2 separate regions of the Homo sapiens genome follow, and region 2 is linked to region 1. Evidence: promoter capture Hi-C in 16 types of primary human blood cells and fetal thymus (Javierre and others, 2016). All regions are on one chromosome and are shown on one strand. Each heading gives the region's core, a stretch centred on a gene start or on the middle of the fragment in contact. The rest is flanking DNA. Distances are from core to core; before and after follow the strand shown.

Region 1 (7,653 bases), core at 2,821-5,320:
GGGAATCACAGTCATTTCTGGTAAAAGTTCTTTGATGTGAGGAATGTCCCAGTCTGGTACAGTTGGCAAAAGTTCACTCTGGGGAATTTTGTGTGTGTGTGTGTGTGTGTGTGTGTGTGTGTGTGTGTGTGTGTGTGTCTTGGGAAGGGGTGGTTGAGGAAGAAGAGTGCTAGTCTGGTATTCCTTAACTCCAAAAAGGAAATACTGCCCTTGATTTATTTTCACAAGTTATCTGAGAAACAAATAGCAGCCTTGGAAAAGTTCTAGGTCTTGTTTTTGTTTTGTTTTTTCATTAAAAGGGGGCCCAGCTGATGAAAACAAGTTATGAAATGACCTATGTTTGTGTAACTGGCTGGATTGCGTAATGCTCAGGCCCTGAAACCGTAATAGTCAAGCAGCCAGGCAGGGCATATATCTGGGAGATGTTTTCCTAGGAAAGTTAGGAGAGAAAAAACAACAGCAAAAAGAAAAATCCAAGAAGGGGAGGTGTGTGCAACGGTTACTGACAAAACAAAATCACCAATGACCAACCTTTGAGATTAAAACTATAACTGGAACAGGAAATATTTTTCATGCCTCAAGTTCCTGCCATATATAAGAACAGAGGCTGTAACAAAGACTAGTCTGCTCCCCCCACCCCCAAAGTCACTGGAGCTCATGGCCATGTATTAAGATCCAGCTTCATGAAGCTAGAGAGGACGGGAAAGCTCTGGGTTGAAGAACTGGCAACAAACTAATCAGGAATATTGGACCCCCAAAAGAGAGAGCTGAAAAAAATAAAATTCACTTCCCCAGAGAAAAACCAGAGAACTGTCTCATATGGATCGGTCCACTGAGATGCCATAAAAGAGAAAGGCCCATCCACTAATTGCCAGGAAAGTCTTCCAGTACAGGAAGCGGAGAGAAATAAAGTGATTACAGGTTTTATCTGGTATGTAGTAAAGTTACCTTGAGCCCAAGATCGGGCAAGGTCATAGCATAGACTTGTGAAGGAACAAAAGCCTCTGAGGTCAGTCCTTAGGACCACAGAACAATTTTGTTCACACTTGGAGCAATGACAGAAAAATCCACCAGTTCCTCCTCGTCCCCCACCCAACCACCACCACACCAAGGAGCGGACAGGCCAAGAAACTTGTCTCAAGTGGCATTACCTTGCCAATCCCTCCGGTTTGAAAGGCGCCTCACACACTGCCGGGCCGAATGGGCAGGCGTCTATGCGAAACCCCGTGCACTGGTTATTGCTAATTGCAAAATACTCATGTGTTACAGCATGCTAGGAATTAGCCAACAGCTGCTTTTTGCTTCGGTAATGAGGCCCTATTACACTCTGCTGGACTGAGTTCTCTTCCTTCTTCCTAGCACTGGTTTCCTGTCTGATTTTCTTCCAAAACCGGGAATTGCCTCCGCTCACATCCTGGGCTCAAAGCCCTAGTGACACAGATTATTCAGTTGGGGCACTGATGTCCGGTCTGACTTCCCTCCAGGCCCCAGGGTCTATGCTAAACCAGGCAGTGAGATTGTAATACTCCAATGATCACTGCTAAAGACACATTAGGGAAAAGAACAGAGAAGAAATCAAAAGATCCCTTCCTGATTTCAGGGAGGAGGAGACAGACAGGCGTTTGGGGTTTGTCGAACGGGAGACGGAGGGAGTGGGTACAGACTTCAACCTATTCCCTCATTATGTTTACATTCAACACAAACCACTAGCGGGGCTGGGAAGCAAACATAATCAACAACTTTTCGGATTTTAAACTCATCACCTTGGTGCTCATTACGAAGGGTGCATTGACTGCACCCTCAATGAACAGACTAGGCTGTCTCTACTGTGGGTGCTTATAGGAGCACCATGGGAGGCAGAGGGAAGACAGAAAAGCCATTTTGGGGACTCACCAGGTATAGGGAATCACTTTGGAACAAGGGACCCCCCCATCAGATCCAAAAGAGAGCCACGTTCCAAAATTCTTTCCAGCTGAGTCCACCCCTCCCTGGAAGCCCACCCTAGCCCCTTCTAGAGGCCAAGGCCACCGCCTTATGGAGCATGAGCATCCCTTGCTGCAGCCAACTATGCTAGACTCCACAGATGCTGACCACGGTGGGCTTCATGTTGTATTGGGCCTGCGTTAACCCAGCTCTCTCTCGAGACAGAGCGGGTGGGGGAGCTGCAGCAGAGGGCAGACACGCCATCAGCACCCCCCCGCCAACAGCACCTTCCTGGTATTTATAAACACAGAGATCACACGCACAATCCCTCCAGTGCAAACCAGTCCGGCTGCTTTAGAAACAAGTTGTTTTCTGCTTCCAGAACCACCCAGGAGCCTGCGTGATGTCTCTTCCCCCACCCGACCCCCTCTTCCCTCTGCCGGTCTCCTTGCTCCAGGTACCCCCAGACCCTCAAGGTGCTCCTTCGTTCCTGGGGGGCAGTGCAGCCTCCTGTCCGTGATCCTTACAGAAGACGGGTCGGCGGGGGGGCAGGCAGGCAGGCAGGGGGCACACAGGCGGCATGAGCCAACCAAGGCTGGCTTCTTCCTTCCTGACCTTCGCACCTGATTCCCAGAGCGGCAGCCCTCGCCCTCGCTCCAGATTACTTGAAGGAGTCCAACCATGTTTCTGGGTCCCCAACCCCTTTCAGAAAGGAGTTATGACTGATGGAGAACGGGGAGGAGAGAGAGAGGGCTTTCCTGAAGGAATAGGGTCCCAGGATGTCGAGAGGTGCCAGTGGGTGCAAAGATTTTCTTGTCTGTCCACCACCCAGAGAGAAGACGCGGGGCAGGGGTGGGGGGGGGGGGGCAGACACTGGGGAGGGGGAGTAGTTCTTGGAAGGAGGTAACAGGCTCCTGGTAGGGGGCCTACAATTCCAGGAGTCTATCTGGGTAAAATATAACGTGAGAGGAAAAGGGCATGTTGTCTCTTCAAGCCCACTCTCCAATCCCCTAGTTTAAAAGGGGGTGGGGGGGAAGGGGAGGACGAAAATCCAGAACTTACAACGGTGGCCCGTAGGTATTTTCTCGCCAAGAAAAAGAAAAGAAAGCAAAAGAGGCAGTGGCGGCGAGAAGAGGGCAGGGGTCCGCCCGCGCCGCCAGGTGCACCGGGGCCCGCACCTACCTGCTGGCCGCCGCCGCCGCTGGAGTAGGACTCGGCGTGCGCAGGAGAGCCGCTGCTGCCCCGGGACGAGGTGTCAAAGTTCCCGGGATAATCCTGGTACATGATCCGCGGTGGGGGCCGGAGAGGAAACAGGGTGTTTTTCTTCCCCCGCCCTCGCCGCGGCCGCGCACCGGCTGCTGCGCGCTCGTTCGTCCGCCGGCCGCGCCGCGGGCTCTGGGCTTCGCTCCTGGGTTTCTCCCCCACCGCGGAGGGCGAGGACAGGGAGGCGGCGACACCTCAGGAACAGCGTCCCCCGAGCGTCCCTTACAGCACTTCTTTCCGGCTCTGCGAGCGCCGCGGGACCAGTTGTCCACCCGATCCCTCCCTCTAAAAAGTCGGCGCGTCTCTCGGTCCCTCCCCTGCGCGCGCCCTCCCGCCCCCGCGCGCAGCCGGAGCTCAGCGGGGACCCACGGCCCAATCAAAAATTGGAAATTAAAAAAAAGATTAGGAGCCCAGCGAGCCTGGCCTGCCAGCCCTGGGGACCCCCGATTTCAGACAGGGCCAAAAAGGCGGAAAGAAAAGCTGTCCGCTGGGAGAAACTTCTGTTTCTTCCTTTTAGAAAAGGAGCCGGAGAATAAACTTCCCGTGGCCGACTCGCCGCCCGAGTTTCGGGGCGGCTCGGATACTTGACTAGGAGAAGGCGGCGTGCGCCCGTCCCGCGGCCCCGAGCGCGCCAGGGGGACAGCGGCTCGTGGGGCTCAAGTAGAGCTGGCGCTGAGAGGGACGCGGCCCCGCTCCCCGCTCCGGCGCCCAGACCCGCACCCCTTCCCCGGAGCCCGCTCCCGGACGGGCCCGCCTCGCCCGGCCGCGCCTCTCCCTCTCTCTCTCTCTCTCTCTCCCTCTTTCTGTCCCCGCCGAGCGCCGCTCGTTCGCTCGCTCGCTGGTTCGCTCGGAGCCCTAGCGCTCTGCCCGAGATGAGTCACTACAATGGCACGAGTTCAACTCACACTCTTTATTCTCCAGCCCTGTACCATGTGGATTCACTCACGTCAACCCCAGACTCCACCTTGCAGGGAGGAGCGCACGAGGAGGCGGGGGGAGGAGGCCGCGGAGGAGGAAGAGGCGCGGGAGGGGAGGAGGCGGGCGCAGCTCTCCCCTCCCAGCCCCGGCTCCCGGCCGCGCTGACGCCAACCGCGCACCCCGCGCGAGGAAGCCAGGCGGTGGCACGGGCGGGAGCGGGCGCCACGCACGGTTCGGAGGCGCCGAGGCAGCCCCGGCCCTCCCCAGTCCCCCGCTCACCCCCCGGGCCCAGCGCCCTTGGTCTGTTCCATTGGCGCACGTTGCCAAAGATGGTCATTTGCGTTAGAGGACGCGAGTGCGGGTTTCCTCGCTTTCGGGTGACGTGGAGGGAGAGGGATTCCCTCGCCCGCTCCCGAGTGCGCTGCGGCCTCTCCCCCGCCCTGGGAAGGGGCTCGGGGCGGGGCCCCGAGAGCGGCCGCGCGGGTCTCGCCTCCGGATTTTAGAAAATAATCACAGCCCTGACGGCGAGACGGGCGGTTCGGTGCGGCGCCACCGGGAGGCCGGGAGCCGGGCGCGCAGAGCCGCTCGCAGGGAGGGCGCGGCTGCGCGCGGTCGTAGGCGCCCTCCGCGGCGCCGCCGAGTGCAGCGGGCGCCCCGGGCGCGCAGGGTGCCCGCGCCGCCCTGCGGCCGGGTGTTGGCGGGGCACGGCGCCGGGCGGGGCTGGCCTGCCTATTTTTCCCTCCGTGGCGGTCTGCCTACCGGTTCCCTTTTTGTTTTTTGTTTTTCATGTTTTCGGTCCTACAGTTAATTCGTTAGGAGTAGCCTTGAAGATGAAATTAACCAGTCAAGACATTCCGGCCGCCCTATACGCCGGGCAATTAGGACGCATCTAATAAGAGTAATCGGGCGTTTATAAGCAAACTCCAGACTGTTACGAATTAAAAAAAAAAAAAAAAAGCCAGCGAGAGGGTGTGCCCCAACGTTGTCGTCTTCAGCTGTTTTGGAGCGAAGTTCAGGGCGCGGGTTGCCGGACATTTGGGTCCTCCTCCCTCGCTGGGCGGGGCTGGGAGGGGCGCGGCGCAGGGTACAGAGCACAGACCTTAGAGCAGGAACGCCCGGCTACGCTATTTACGAGCTGTGAGATCTTGGACGAATTCCTTAACCTCTCTGGGCCTCAGTTTCCTCCTATAAAGTGAAGGAGTTTGGAGACATGACCTTAGGCCCTTCTCTGCTCTGGAGCTCCAATCCTTCCGCTGAGATGATGGTGTGTGTGAATGGAGAAGTACTGTAGCGGAAGTCAGGGAACTTAGGTTTTGGTCCAGGGTCTGTGTTAGCCTCAGTTTACCCAATTCTTAAGTAGCGCCAGCCATCTGTACCCCACAGGGTCCTTATGAGGACCCAATGTTAAGAGGTGTTGAGAGTCCATTGCTGACAACTCGCTGTGCACCGTCACACAACTTCTGTCCTCAGTTTCCTTATCTGCAAAGTGGGGGTGTTGGTAGCAGAGAAAAATAGAGCCGGGAACGCGAAGCTTTCCTGGGGCTCTATATAAAGCGCTGGCATTTCCGGGACGGCTGGCGGCATCTGGCCGCCCCAAGGGCCCCAAGATACGGTAATCCCAAACAATACTCGGGGTCATTGTTTACAGCTATAAAACACATTCTGTCCTGAACGCTATCCCCAAGGACGCGCGCGCGTGCGCGACGAGGCGAGGCCAGCCAGACTCCTCGCACCTCCGCTGCTGCCCGCTGGACAGAGTCCCCAACTCCGCAGGCCCAGGAGAGGGGTGTGGGGCAGGCGGACGCGCGCGCCGGCCGTGGGTGCTTTGCTTTTTTCTTCCCCCTCCCCATCCCTGCGTCCTGGCTTGCCTGGGTGTTTACGCGCCTCTCCCAGCAGGACTGAGTAAATGCAGTCCTTTGACGCAAAACGAATCAGTCCTTCCCCAGCGGCAGCAGCAAAACTCAGAAAACTGGGGGTGGGGGTAGGGACGGGAGGGGCACAGAAGAAATCGTGACATTTTCCCACTCGGTTCTCAGCCCCTCCCCGCGCCACGCGGGCCTCAGGCCGCCCTAGCCAAGTCTTGGGGGCTGCAAAGGGAGGCGCGGCCAAAGCGCCCTGCCTGAGCCCTCCCAGTAGCAACCGCGTGTCGGAGCGGCGCGAACAGACGCACTTTTGGTTTTCCTTTGAGCAGTAGAGGCTGCCCCGCCCTCCCCCACCTGGCGGTCGAAAATCCGGGTGCTTCTGGGTCTCTCCCACACAGTCCTTCCAGTAACGCGGGGGGAAAGAGGCGGGGGAAGGGGAGCGGGAGCTTCCTCCGCGGCCTCCGCAGTCCCGGGCGCGCCCAGCCCCGGCCAGGCGCCGCCGGGAGCGCGCGGGCGAGCGCACCCTCGCGCCCTCGCCCGCCCTCGCCCTGCCAGCTCCCCGGTCCTTTCCTTTCTTGTGGGTTCCCGTAAAGCCCAGCAGCCTGGAGACGTCTGCAGAGCATCACGGAATCTGTGCTGATGCAATTCACTAGCCTCCCTTTGGTGCGCCCTGGCCTGCCTCAGAGCGCTTTGATCCCGGCCCTCTCCTACTCCAGAACTCGTGCTGGCTCCCTCTGCCCGCCGGGAGGCTTGCGTTCCGCAGCCCGCTCACCCCCTTTCAGTCCCCCCAGCGCCGGACACACAGCGCTGTGCCCTGGTGCTGCTGCGGGACTGACCTCCCCCGGTTGAGCGAGTGCCTCAGCGAACTGTGCCTGCCATACAGAGAATTCAGTCTCCAAGTGCCCTCTCCTTGGGAAATCATTCCAGAATCATCCAGTTAGAAAGGGTCCTCTGGCTCCCTGGAATGCTAAAAATAGAGGTGACCCTTTATTGAGTGCTAAAATCAGAGCCAGGCACCATGCTGAATACAGGGCTTGTTCTGTGAAATTCTCACAGCAAACGCTGGAGGTGGGTATTATTCCCTGGTTGCAGAAGAAGACAGTGAGATTGAATAACTTGTCCAGGGGAACTGGTTAGTGAGTTAGTGATCTGTTAGGAGTGCAGCTGAGATTCTCCGACACCAGGCTCTTCTTTTTCCCCAGGACATGGCATGACCTGCCTCCTGTTGGAATGTCTTTGTCTCTCTCTTACTGGTCTTGAAAGGCATGGTCTTTATCTGGTGCATGACTTTATCCTACACTTAGAGGTGCGCCTTAATTCTCCACTGAACAAATAGCCTCAGCGGCATCCCTCAGCTTAGAGAAGAGGCCATGTCAAGTGAGGGAAGGGAAGGGGAAGAGGGAAGCTGGGGTGGGAAGAAAAGGGTAGATGAGCTGGGAAGAAAAGGGTAGGTGAGCTGTCTTCTCATTGCCTCTCTGGGTCTCTGAGACCTCTCTTGCCTTACTTTTGCCGGTCTCCTTGTTTGTCCATCCTGGCCAGTGTTTGGCCCCTGAGAGATGAGGAATCCCAGAATAGCTGCCCCCTCAGAGCTGTGCTGGCCCACACATCTCAGCACCGGATACATGAAGCCCTTTCACACACATCGCCTCATTTGTCCTTACACATGACATCTCTGAAAGGGATATAG
Region 2 (7,653 bases), core at 2,116-4,615, 520 kb after region 1:
TTTGTGTTTCTTTTGTGAGTTGCCAGCCATGGGTCCTTTGTCCATTTTTCTGTTGGACACTCCTTAAGATTTTAAACAAGACAGTTCAAAGAAAAGAAAATGTAAAGATGCTGGTTAAGAGTTCTGCAGCAAAGAAGCTAATAGTATAAGAGTGAAAGGAGAATTTTAAGACTCTGGCTAGCATAAAATATTGTGGAAATATGGATGAGAGAGATTCTCAACCCTGGTTGCCCTTTAGAGTCAGTTAAACCAGCCTCTCCAGGGAGGGAATCCAGGCATCAATTTTTGTTTTTTAAACTCCCCATAAATTTTAATGTTCCACAGGGGTAGACAAAAAGTGACTTACTGATAAAAGCAGGAACTATGAAGTAGAGTGAATGTGACAAAATACTGTAGCAATTTGGAGAAATTAACCTTTAAGAGAAAGGGGTTGGAGTTATTCCTGATCAAGGGGAGTCATGATTGGCACAGATAAACACATCAGCGTATAAGTGGCATCATACCTGGTTATCCAGTCTCTCTGCTGTGGTAATACAGAGTCTTCACTCTTGACGACGTGTTGTGTCACATGATGCTGTCCAGTGATATCAGTTCTTGAATGATGTGAGTTCCGCCCAGGACAGTTGCCTCCTAGTTGAGTGGCTGCACCTTCCTCCATTCTGACAGTGATTGTACAATGTTAAAACTAAGCTGTAAGCTAAGTGAGGACAGGGTCTGAATATCTCCAGAACTTCACACAGAGTCTGGAATGTAGTAATTGTAACAAATATATGCGGAGAATGGACTGAGTATCATAAAAAGGATCTGAGATTATTCCAATTTCTTCCATAGTTATCATACTAAATCAAGATTTTCTTCATTGAATACAATTTTAATCACTTTTTAGTACTTTCTACACAGTGATGAACAACTTTTTTGTCATATGATCTTCAAGGACAAGTTTTCTTTGAATTGTAGAAGGTTCCTCTTATGACAACTGATTGAAGACACGTTTGAGGCCTTAAATTCTTCATATGAGCATTTAAAATATTTCTATCTGCCTTGCCTTACCTTCTTTATGATTTTTATATCACTAGTTTGACTTGGAGTGTTTCTTGTATACATACAGAAGGCTGCTATAAATTATCTCTGTTTGTATATGGTTGATGTGTTTTCTAAATAAAAGCTGAGAGTTTTGTTTTTGCTTTGGGTTTGGGGTTTTTTGTTTCAGGGTGTTTTGTTTTTTTTTTGTTTGTTTCCCAGATACATCACATATTAGGTACTGGCTTGTCTCTCATGGTCAAAAATACGTTCAAATGCAATTCTTCTGTATCATTGCAGAAAATAATTTGTGCAACAGTTTTTTAAGTACCCTTTAAAAATTATATTTTACATCTGGATTTTTACCACCAGTTTAAAAAATTACAATTCATACACTGTTATAGCAACAATATTGGTTTTTTCTGAGTTAGAGGTCTTCATTTTGAAGTGAGAAATACAAACCTACATTTTTAGTTACCTAAATTTTCAACCAAATACTCTGCCAAAAGTCTTTTAGAAACTCAATTTTAAAGTCCTTCAGGCTGTCTCAATGAAAATCATAAGCAGTTCTTTGGTATTCTGTCAAGACCATAAAGAAAATAGAGTATTATCTAAAATGTTTCTTTTAAGCCATTTGAAATTATCACAGTACCTTGCTCAAAGTAGTTACTCAGTGAACATTTGTGGAGGGAAGGAGGGAATGCTTGCATGCCACAGTTGCCCAAGAATAGCAGCTGTGTAGAATGTCTGTGTGGGGACCCCGATTCCAGCAGAACTTTAACCCTATTGACAGCTGCAACAAGGAAACTGCATTATTTAACTGGTTAGTTATTTGGGTTGTAATGAGCAGAGGATCATTTCAGTTACTTCAAGAATGGATACTTGTTTGCAAGGTGACCCAGAATTAGCTTAACAGCCAGGTCTCAGGAAGAGCAGGAACCAGGGAAGGTTCCTAGGAAATGGATTGTTCTTTAATTTTTACCCCAGTGCTCCATCATTACCCTGGCCCCACTGCCCTCCTCATGTGTGTTCCATACCCTCACTCCTCTCCCCATTTGCAGGCTTTCTCTGCGAGTATAGCACCTGCTCATTCCCAACCCTGCCAGTGTTTTGCCTTTACTGGCCTCCTTTACCCCTCTGCATCCATTCAAGCTTCTGCTTCCACCACAAATTGCTTCCTTCTTGCCATGTTTCTTATTTGATGGGTGTTCAGCTGTGGTGTTTCATATACATTCATTAAGCTAGGCTGACTTTCTGTCTGCTTGACGTTTTGCTTACCTAGGGAATTGCATTAACATCACCTACCGTGATGGTGGATTTGACAATTTCTTGTTGTTGTTATATATTTTTTTGGTTTTATGTATTTTACGGCTAATTTATTGGTTATACTTAGACTTGAATTATTACATTTTCCTGCCGAGTTTAACCTTTTTTCTCCCTTTCCTGTGGTGCTGATGAATTTAACCTTTTGATTAAAGTGAGTTACCATATTTTATCTGTCTTTGCCTTAAGCTTTTTTATTTTTTAATTTTTGGCTGATATTGATAAAGCTATCCAGGTTTGTTTTAGTTGCTATTTGCCTTGTATATCTTTTCCTGTCTTTTTTTCTTTTCACCCTTCAATGTGTCTCATAAACAGCGCATACCTGAATTTTAGTCTTTTGTTGGCTTGTTTTATTTATTAATTTTTTTTATAACTGCACTACTTTTTTCTTTTTACTAGAGAATGTAATCCAGTCACATTTGTTGGGAGTTCTGATTTATTTGAATTTATTTTAAATGTGTTACGTTACAATAAACGGCTCTTTAGAACACTATTTTTCAAGCTCATTAAGCCTGTAGAGCAGGGGTCCCCAACCCCTGGGCCACAGACCAGTACTGATCTGTGGTGTGTTAAGAACCAGGCTGCAAAGCAGGAGGTGAGTGGCAGGCAAGTGAGCAAAGCTTCATCTGTATTTACAGCCACTCCCCATTGCTCACATTACCTCCTAAGCTCCACCTCCTGTCAGATCAGCAGTAGCATTAGTTTCTCATAGTAGCGTGAACCCTATCGTGAACTGCACATGCAAGGGATCTAGGCTGTGCACTGGTTTTGAGAATCTAACGCCTGATGATCTAAGGTGGAGCTGAGGCACTGATGCTAGCATTGAGGAGCAGCTGCAAATACAGATTAACATTAGCAGAGAGGTTTGACTGCACAGAGACCATCATAAATCAACTGCTTGCAGACTTATATCAAAACCCTATCAGTGAGTGGCAAATGACAATTAAGCTGTATCTGGTGGCAGGCTTAACTTTATAGTGGCAAGTGAGTTGATGTACTTCAGTTGTACAGCTGCATCTGGTAGCAGGCCTTAAGTCAGAATCCAACAGTTATTTTAGCCCACACATGGCCCACCCATTATTTTATTTACCATGCCTCTTTCTCACACTGCACACTTGTCTCAGTCACAGTTTTGGTAAGCCCATGAGCTAATCCTAGCCAAATTAGTAAAAAATAAACGTCACTGGAGAGCTTCTTTGAAAAGGGGGGAAAGACCCAATGATGAGACAGCAGAAGACTTTTAAGACTGGCAACAAAATGAAAGCTGCATTTAAAAGAAAATACCAAGAGTCCTATTTAAATTACGGGTGCATTGAACCTGCTTTGTATAATATGTGGTAACTAGCTATCCAACGAAGCCATGAAACCTTCAAAACTGCTTTGCTACATGGAGACCAAGCACCTCGCATTAAAAAACAAGCTTTTGGGTTTTTTTGTTTGTTTGTTTGTTTGTTTTAGTGAACACGAAGAACAGAAGCAATCATTGAAGGCCACAGCTTCATCAAATGTGTCTGTACTGAGAGTATCATTGTTAGTGGCTAAATGCATTGCTAAAGCTAAGAAGTCCTTTACTGTTGGTGAAGAGTTGACCCTGCCTGCTGCTAAGGACATTTGTCTTGAACTTTTAGGAGATCTTGCAGTTAAAAAGGTGGCACAAGTTCCTCATTCAGCTGGCACCATAACTAGACAAATTGATGAAATAGCAGAGGACATTGAGGCACAATTGTTAGAGTGGATTAATGAGTCACTGTGATACGCAGTCCAGGTTGATGAGTCTACCGATGTTGACAAGGCAACAATGCTTGTTTTGTGTAATGTATTTTTCAGGAGGATGTGCATGAGGATATGTTATGTGCACTTTTGTTGCCAGCCCACACCACAGCTGCAGAACTGTTCAAGTCTTTGCGTGATTACATGTCAGGAAAACTGAACTGGTCATTTTGTGTGAGTATATGCATGGACAGAGTGGCTGCCATGGCTGGACAGCTTCTGGTTTCACTACTCACATCAAAGAGGTTGCTTCTGAATGTGAGTCTACACACCATGTCATCCATAGAGAAATGCTGGCTAGCCAAAAAATGTCACCTGAACTTAACAGCATTTTGCAGGATGTGATTAAAATTATCAACCACGTTAAAGTACATGCCCTTAACTCACGTCTCTTCGCACAGCTCTGTGAGGAGGTGGGTGCAGTGCACACATGTCTTCTCTCACACACACAAGTGAGATGGCTTTCTAAAGGTAGATCACTGATCAGAGTTTTTGAGTTACAAGAGCCACTCCGGAGATTTCTTTTAGAAAAACAGTCACCACTGGCAGCACATTTCAGTGACACAGAATGGGTTGCAAACCTGGCTTCCTTGTGTGACATATTCAACCTGCTCAACGAACTCGATCTGTCACTTCAGGGGAGAATGACAACTGTGTTCAAATTGTCAGATAAAGGGGCTGCATTCAAAGCCAAACTGGAATTATGGGGGTGACAAGTGAACATGGGGATTTCTGACATGTTTCAAACATTAGCAGATATTTTGAAAGAGACTGAACCAGGGCCTTCTTTCCCCCAGCTGGTGCATGATCACCTATCTCAGCTTTTAAAGGAGTTTGAGCATTACTTCCCAACCACAAAAGACCCCCCAGACTGGGAAGGAATGGATCTGCAACCCATTTGTGGATAAGCCAAGGTGAATCGACTTTGTCCGTGCTGGAAAAGGACCAACTGCTTGAGATCGCAAATGACGGTGGCCTTAAAAGTATGTTGAAACAGCTTCAAATCTTCACACAGTCCGGATTGAAGTCAAGGCATAATATCCAGAGACTGCCCCAAAAGCACTGAAAAGCTTGCTTCCATTTCCAACACCCTATCTTTGTGAAGCAGAGTTTTCTGCAGTAACAGCAACCAAAACGAGATTATGGAGTAGACTGGACATAAACAACACACTTCAGGTATCACTGTCTCCCGTCACCCCCAGATAGGACCGTCTAGTTGCAGGAAAACAAGCTCAGGGCTCCTACTGATTCAACATTATGATGAGTTGTATAATTATTCCATTATATATTACACTGTAATAATAATAGAAATAAAGTGCACAATAAATGGAATGTGCTTGGATCATCCCAAAACCATTTCCTCCCCCTGGTCCCTGGAAAAATTGTCTTCCACAAAACCAGTCCCTGGTGCCAAAAAGGCTGGGGACCACTGCTGTAGAGCACAGGTAAGTCACACTTTTTGTGGAATACCACAGAACATTAAGCTTAAGTTAACTATATTCATACTTCCCATGAAATTGTATGCTCTCTTCTGCTAGACTATAGGTTACATAAAGAATACTGCACTCGGGTTTAAGAAGAAAAGTTAAATTTGATAACATAGTGTCCATTCACTTAATGCCTTCTGAATTAAGTAGGAAAGGAGCACCATTATTTGGCCTTGCTGTCTCAGCATCTTGGTTCAGCTTGAAGAACACCAGTGTTCTTCAGAAGTATAATTACTATTAAATAAAAATTACACAATAAATTATAAAATCCTAAAATATAAATAGGTCCAAGGAGCTTTAGGTACATTTCTGGATAATATTTTGTAAGTTTTGGAGTCAGATCAACCTTGCTTTGAATCCTGGCCCTGCCATCTTCTACTGGGTGAACATGGATATGTTTTGTAATCTCTCTGATTTTCATTCTCCTTATCTGTGAAATAGGATCAAAATAATAATAACTTTCTCATGGGGTTATTGTAATGATTAAGTGAATTGATAGTTATAAAGTGTTTAGTGCAGTATTTATCATATAATAAGTCCTCTAGAAATATCTGCCATTATTAATGTATTAGTTATTTCAATTGGACTTACTATATTAGGACTCCCAAAGGAGATGATTGTCTGAGTTGAATTTTAAAGGATTTGAATGGATTAGCTCAGCTGAGAAGCAAAGGAAAGAACTTTCAGGCATAAAGAATAGGCTATGCAAAGATATTTGAAATACAAGTAAGATTTTAAGAATGAACAGTGTCAAGAGACCACGAGGAAAGCCACCATTCTTTCCTGTGTAACATCACCTAGTGACACACTCAAAACAAGAAGTGGTGGAAAGGGATGAAATATAGGTTGTTTTTAGTATAGAATTATTGTTTCTTATGCTCTTATATAAATGACTGTTAAGTAAATATTTGTGTGTTTTATGTATTGAATATCCAACATTATAGTCAAAATTGAAAGAATACCAATTGTCAAAGAAAGTAGCATATTGTGGTTAAAAACTATAGCAATGGAGTCAGAAGAGCTGAATTAAAAATTAGCTCAACCCCTAACAGCTATGTGTTTTTTTGATAAGCCAATACCTTTTGAACTCTCACTTTTTCCCTAAAACAGATGATGATAATGCCTACCCTAGATCATCTTACAAATATATTGTTAAGCTCAAAATAACATAATGAGTTCTTGATTATATATGATCACCAAAAATAGTAGATAAATTAAAATTTAATAATTGATTCCAGATTACATTATTTTGTCTTATGCTGATTTATCCTTCTAATTATATTTTGCTTAGGATAAAATTAAAATCTGTTTTTATTTCTTTAAACTACACCAGCAGATGGCAAAAAGATGTAACCCAGATAATTATAATGTAGTGACAGAAGTCATTCTGGAATTTAAAATTTACTATAATTAATTGGCAAAATAGAAAATAAAATATTGGTTTTGTAGTTATTTGTCACTGTCATTTTTATTATTTTACAAATGCATACTTTTCTTGTCTTCAGTGAATTTAAAAGCAGTTCATCAGGAACTTTTGACAAATGACTTTGTTCCACCAAACCCTTTCTGCTCTGTTTTTCAGCATTCTGATTTTCCCACTTTCCAGTTCTTGTACACATACCTTTGCCATCCAAAATAGTTGTCCAATCCCCACTTCCTAATCCCCTATACATACATATACATTTTGCCTGCCCTTGCCTCTTGCAATCTCTAATTCCAAAATTAGCTCATTCCCCACCTCCCTATCCAACCTTTTTTCTTCCTCTAGGACTGAGCTCAGCTGGAAGGAAGTATATATATATAATTATCCAAAAAGATTTGCTGAGCTTAGGTAGTATTTTAATTTTTATGTGTATGTTTAATATTTTGAGTGATAAGCCTCTCCTGACACCTTGTATACTCAGCCCTCCATGCCATACTGGAAGAATAAAAAGGATGTGCCCCTTTTCGTCCCCATTTTTCTGACCATATTCCCAACTAAGTTTATAAAGACTCCCGTCACATAACTTCATTTTCAATTCGGAAATTTCATAACTGGCTTACTTTTTCCCTT

What was found. The method cuts DNA at HindIII sites, captures the fragments that hold promoters and counts their contacts. A CHiCAGO score of 5 or more calls a contact.
Region 2: a contact is called between a fragment that was not itself captured here and the fragment with the promoter of FOSL2 in region 1, in 5 of 17 cell types (endothelial precursors, megakaryocytes, M2 macrophages and 2 more). The highest score is 6.1, in endothelial precursors.

The regions. Positions count from the first base shown.
Region 1 is chr2:28,389,275-28,396,927 of GRCh38, reverse strand. FOSL2 (FOS like 2, AP-1 transcription factor subunit) reads right to left here and starts at 4,070. Exons shown (of 4, transcript NM_005253.4): 1 at 3,106-4,070. The coding sequence starts at 3,207. FOSL2-AS1 (FOSL2 antisense RNA 1) reads left to right here and starts at 2,256. Exons shown (of 2, transcript NR_103831.1): 1 at 2,256-2,380. RefSeq lists enhancers at 1,952-2,452, 2,453-2,953, 3,109-4,040 and silencers at 3,071-3,247, 3,734-4,853, 6,401-6,470. The HindIII fragment of the contact is 9,962 bases long and covers 1-5,637 here.
Region 2 is chr2:27,867,408-27,875,060 of GRCh38, reverse strand. The region is part of intron 1 of RBKS (ribokinase); the gene reads left to right. Among named protein-coding and RNA genes, the nearest start is that of RBKS, 19 kb to the left of the region's middle. The HindIII fragment of the contact is 800 bases long and covers 2,966-3,765 here.